Regions from separate parts of the Homo sapiens genome. Here region 1 is linked to region 2. Evidence: promoter capture Hi-C in human tissues and cell types (Jung and others, 2019). All regions are on one chromosome and are shown on one strand. The core of a region is centred on a gene start or on the middle of the fragment in contact, and the rest is flanking DNA. Distances in the headings are between cores, read along the strand shown. Region 1 has its middle 22 kb from the start of INSYN1-AS1. Region 2 holds the start of LOXL1 (lysyl oxidase like 1).

Evidence for each region. The method cuts DNA at HindIII sites, captures the fragments that hold promoters and counts their contacts. A contact is called where the count stands out against the background at its distance.
Region 1: a fragment that was not itself captured here is called in contact with the fragment with the promoter of LOXL1 in region 2 in 1 of the 25 tissues and cell types used here (H1 embryonic stem cells).

Annotation. Positions count from the first base shown.
Region 1 is chr15:73,788,752-73,791,451 of GRCh38, forward strand. No RefSeq gene overlaps it. Among named protein-coding and RNA genes, the nearest start is that of INSYN1-AS1, 22 kb to the left of the region's middle. The HindIII fragment of the contact is 3,541 bases long and covers 1-2,700 here.
Region 2 is chr15:73,925,012-73,927,711 of GRCh38, forward strand. It overlaps LOXL1 (lysyl oxidase like 1), which reads left to right and starts at 1,451. Exons shown (of 7, transcript NM_005576.4): 1 at 1,451-2,700. The coding sequence starts at 1,773. All of the region lies in intron 1 of LOXL1-AS1 (LOXL1 antisense RNA 1), which reads right to left. RefSeq lists an enhancer at 1,957-2,700 and a silencer at 2,699-2,700. The HindIII fragment of the contact is 8,654 bases long and covers 1-2,700 here.

The DNA.
Region 1 (2,700 bases), core at 46-2,545, 140 kb before region 2:
CCCACCCACCTCTTGCCAATTGGAGTATAGAGAAGGTGGCAGGCAGAGAGTGGAAACTGGGACTCTGCTGCATTGACACCTGCTAGGTGCCAGGCACGGCAGTAGGTGCTTTGCTGAACGCCACTCATTTATAAACTGCTTTACATGCACCACCACATTTAACCTTTGCAGTAGACCTTGGAGCTTGGCACTATTGCTATCCTAAGTTGCTATGAGGGAACTACACAGAGAGGGAAGTGACTTGCTCAGGATCCCCCAGCCGTTTAACAACCCCATGCACCACAGCTGGATGAGCAAGATGTCTGCAGTGAAGGGACAGAGGAATTGAGGCCAAGCTACTGGGGAGGGGTGGAAATGCCATTCTGGAGGATCTGTGACGTTGACAGAGACTTTATCGACACAACAAGCCAGCTAACCCCTAACGAACGTGTTGATTCATTCATTCATTCCATCAGTTACTCCAACATGTGGGACTGCATGGTTGTGAAAACAGAATATGACCTTGTAAAAGGAGAAGCCTTGGGCCCTTGATGCCAGGTGGGAGGAGGATGGAGAGCTCTAAGAGGACTGGAGATGCCAAGACGGCTTCTTAAAGAGGTGTGGAAGGACTGCGGATGGCTGCTTTCCCTCTTTAGATCCTGCTGTGGGATGCTAGCACAAAGTCTGGAAAATGCACCTGACTTTGCCTAGAGGGCAATAGGTCTCTTCCTGGGGGTGTCACGCAGGAGGGTACCTCTCTTGCTAGTCTTGCCCAGAGCTCCTGAGGAAGGGTCCCTGTGACAGCTCCTTCTCTCCCCTGATCAAGTGGCCTAGGCTTCAGGTAGCAGGACTGGTGAACTGGTTGGGCAGACATGGCTGTCCTTGCCTAGGCCAATGTAGTGCCAGCCATGGCCTTCCCAGAAGCCTTAGACTACAGGCAGAGCTGCCTCACTCTAGCTGTCCTAGCTGCTGGATGCCTGCCAGGTGTGTCTCTGAAGGCCTATCTTCCAAGACTCAGAGAGTGACCACTGGAAAAGACACATCTGGACCCTGAGATCTCCAATAAACTTCAAGTGTTCCCTCATCAGCGTCTCATGTGGCATAAACTTCCCAAATCCTTACTGAGGAGGTCATGATCTGTGCATATCTCTCAGGAGCCCAACAGCAACTATCTATTCAACAAATATTGGTGCTGGCCTTTATTCTGAATGTAGACTTCCATCGGGGCTCAGTGTGAGGCCAGGGTCAAGGCTCAGTGTACGATCAGGGTTGGGGCTTGGTCTATGACCAGAGTCAGGGCTCAGTGTGTGCCCAGGGTCAGGAGCCACTGCATGGACAGAGTCACGACTCAGTCTATGAATGCGATCAGAGTTCAGCCTGGAGCTGCTGTCAGAGACTAATCTTTTCCAGGCCTTGACTTTCCTTTAGAGCAAGACTACAGGCTCAGGGACTGCCTGCTAAGAGCAAGGTAAGGCAAAACAGGCTGAGTTCAAATCCTGGCTTACCACTTGCCAACTCACCTGGAGCAATATCCTGATCCTGCAAACCTTGAGTTGCTTACCTGTAAATGAGGACAAGGGGAGGCACCTGCCTTAGTTCATTCTGTGCTGCTGTAACAGAATTCTTGAGACTGGGTAACTTAAAATGAAGAAGTATTTATTGGTTCATGATTCTGGAGGCTGTGGAGTCCAAGATCAAGGTGTCAGCATCTAATAAGGGCCTTCTTGCTGTATCATCCCATGGTGGAAGCAGAGAAGGCATGTGCACATGGGGAAGTGGGTGGAGCGTAAAAGGGGGCCAAACTTGTCCTTTTATAAGGAACCCACTCCCAAGATAACAAACCCGCTCCTATGATAATGACATTAATCCATTCATGAGGGCAGAGCCCTTATGGCCTAATCACCTCTCATTAGACCCCACCACTAAACATTATTGCATTGGGAATTAAGTTTACAACACATACCTTTTGGGGCACATATACAAACCATAGCAGTGCCTCATAGGTTGGGAAGGCTTAACAGGTGAAAAACACCTAGCTCTGAATGTGGCACTTAGTGAATGCTCAGGAAATGGCAAACTCTGCTTTATCCATTATAACCATCATACTAGAGGCTCAGGATCTAAACACTTTACACCTGGTTCCAGTCCTGCCCTCCTGATTCAGGTTTGAGTCAGAGAGTCAAAGGGACCAGTCTCCCTGCTCATCCACGGCCAAGGAAGTCACTGGGTCCTGGGAAACTTCCCTGGAGTCAGGAAAGCTTGGGATAGGGAAGCCTCTTGGGGCAAAATCTCACCCCTTTGATGACCATCAGCTTTTCTCAGAGGCTTCAAGACTCTACCTGCCTGCTGCTTGTGCTCTCTGGTGGGCAGATGAGCCCTGCAGCCCTGGTCCCTTCAGTCCCCAGATTTGGGATGAAGACCCCAGTCTCCTAGATGAAGCTTGTAGCACTCCCTCCTGTCTGCCCTACTCTGCTCCAAGGGCCCTTTGCTGTCCAGGCTCTGTGTGCCTCTTCCTGCCTTCTCCAGCAGTCCCATGGCCCACTTCTTAGCCTCTCCCATCACAACCCTCCAGGATTCTTTCATTGTTTTTGGCTTCCTCTCCCACCCATCTTTCATTTGGATGTTTCCTAAGAGGACAGAATTCTAACCACCAGCCAGCCCTTCCTGCCCCATCCAACAAAACAGATAATCTGTTCTCCATTTTCCCAGAGGAGAAATGAA
Region 2 (2,700 bases), core at 201-2,700:
GCTGGCCAGGAGGTATTGGAAGCCCCCTACCTCTGGGCTGGATTCTGGGCATTTAAAGGGTAGAGACATGCTGGAGTCCAAGCCTCAGTCCTGAAGAACAGTGCAATGGGTGAACAAATGCTGCCTGGCAAGGATGGGGTTGGGAGGTCTATAGTTCCCAAAGAATGTCCACTCTAGTTGCCTCCTCTCTAGGTGGGCTCCAGGCATTTCCAAAATAAAGAATATACAGGAGCCAAATTAAGGACAGGTCCTTCATACCTTGTTTATAAGCCCAAGAGGGCAATTTCTGCCCTTCGGTTCCCAGGAACACGGTTGGAGAAGGCAGCCCAGGGGAGGCCAGAAGAGCAGTATTTGGAGTGTGATTTCTTGGATGCCAAAGCGTTCAAACTTCTGGGACCCCCTCCTATCCCTGCCATTCCCAGAAGGAACAGAGAATCTCCCAAAGCACTCTCAGGAGCCATCTGGCCTAATCTTCCATTGGTAAGCCGTGGCACCTGGATCAGATAGAGTAAGGGACTAAGCCACACAGCAACAGGACCAGGCCAGGTCTCCGGAACCCCCTTCTGTTGTTCAATGCTTACTGGCTTCTCTGCCTCACAGTGACCCCTGTCCCATATCAAAGACAGCCCCCAGTTTCATTTTATCCATGTGTACACTCAAGTTATTCCCAGGCTATGCAGAGCCAAGAGATGTAGGACAGAAACCATACGTGATGTCTGGGAAGTTGATCTCTCCCAGGATCTCACAAGTGCTTTTCAGCTCAGGGATACACCCCACTCTTCAGACTGGGAAAGTAAGCCCCTGAGGTGTGCCACGAGGGAAAAGGTGCAGCTCCAGTGCCTCTCTTCGCAGGCCCAAGAGCTGCGGTGCACCTGGGACCTGGAATTAGAGAGTGGTCCCTGTTCAGCATCTCCCCGAGGAGGCCCACCAACAAAGAGGGTGTGTCTTTTTTTTTTTTTTCTTCCTATTGAGGGTGTGGGATAATGGTGGAAGGAACATGCAAAGAGGGTGTGTCTTAATTAGCACTGGCTTTAGGGAACAAGGAAAAGGGAGAACCCGGGAGTACGGGAAGGAGGCTGGGGCAGACAGGAGTCAGAGGCCCATTCCAGCCCAAACGAGAAGCCAGTGAGCAAGGTGGAGACCAGGGATGCTGTGACCAAAGCAGAGAGGAATGGGCGGGGTGGTGCTGACACCCCAGCCCCGTTCTGCCTGCCAGAGCCCCACTTACCAGGCCCGAGTCCCCAGAGGTCCCCTCCTACTCCCTGCTCGATTCCCTTCCTCAGAGGCAGGTCTGTGGCTTGGCTGGGAACTCCAGGGACTGAGGGAGCACTGCAGCTGTGGGACCGGCGCATAGCTAAAAGCCGGCGGGCCATAGGGCCCCGCGGAGGAGGCCCCAGCAGGCGGACCAGGAGGCCGAAGCCTCCCGACGCTCCCAGCCTGTTGCTTATTCATTCAGAGTGGGAAAGCGCCAGCCGAGCGGCCAGCCAGTGCGGGGCTGGCCATGTAAGGCCCACAGGCGGTCCTGCCCGCCCGGTGCCCTGCGGAGAGCCTCGTGCAGCCCTGGGCACCGCCCCTGCCCTGCCCTGACCCCTTGGCCTTGAAATGCTGTCATCGGAGGAGCCGTCCCGCTCGGGACAAGGCCAGCATGGACAAAGCTAGAGCTGGGGCAAGCAAGGAGCCTTCCTGTCCTCGAGGCCGTGGGAAGAGAAGCACGCCCAGGGGGCCACTCCTGAGAGCCTCTCTGTCCACCAGGCCTCTGCAGAGGGGTCACCATGGCTCTGGCCCGAGGCAGCCGGCAGCTGGGGGCCCTGGTGTGGGGCGCCTGCCTGTGCGTGCTGGTGCACGGGCAGCAGGCGCAGCCCGGGCAGGGCTCGGACCCCGCCCGCTGGCGGCAGCTGATCCAGTGGGAGAACAACGGGCAGGTGTACAGCTTGCTCAACTCGGGCTCAGAGTACGTGCCGGCCGGACCTCAGCGCTCCGAGAGTAGCTCCCGGGTGCTGCTGGCCGGCGCGCCCCAGGCCCAGCAGCGGCGCAGCCACGGGAGCCCCCGGCGTCGGCAGGCGCCGTCCCTGCCCCTGCCGGGGCGCGTGGGCTCGGACACCGTGCGCGGCCAGGCGCGGCACCCATTCGGCTTTGGCCAGGTGCCCGACAACTGGCGCGAGGTGGCCGTCGGGGACAGCACGGGCATGGCCCGGGCCCGCACCTCCGTCTCCCAGCAACGGCACGGGGGCTCCGCCTCCTCGGTCTCGGCTTCGGCCTTCGCCAGCACCTACCGCCAGCAGCCCTCCTACCCGCAGCAGTTCCCCTACCCGCAGGCGCCCTTCGTCAGCCAGTACGAGAACTACGACCCCGCGTCGCGGACCTACGACCAGGGTTTCGTGTACTACCGGCCCGCGGGCGGCGGCGTGGGCGCGGGGGCGGCGGCCGTGGCCTCGGCGGGGGTCATCTACCCCTACCAGCCCCGGGCGCGCTACGAGGAGTACGGCGGCGGCGAAGAGCTGCCCGAGTACCCGCCTCAGGGCTTCTACCCGGCCCCCGAGAGGCCCTACGTGCCGCCGCCGCCGCCGCCCCCCGACGGCCTGGACCGCCGCTACTCGCACAGTCTGTACAGCGAGGGCACCCCCGGCTTCGAGCAGGCCTACCCTGACCCCGGTCCCGAGGCGGCGCAGGCCCATGGCGGAGACCCACGCCTGGGCTGGT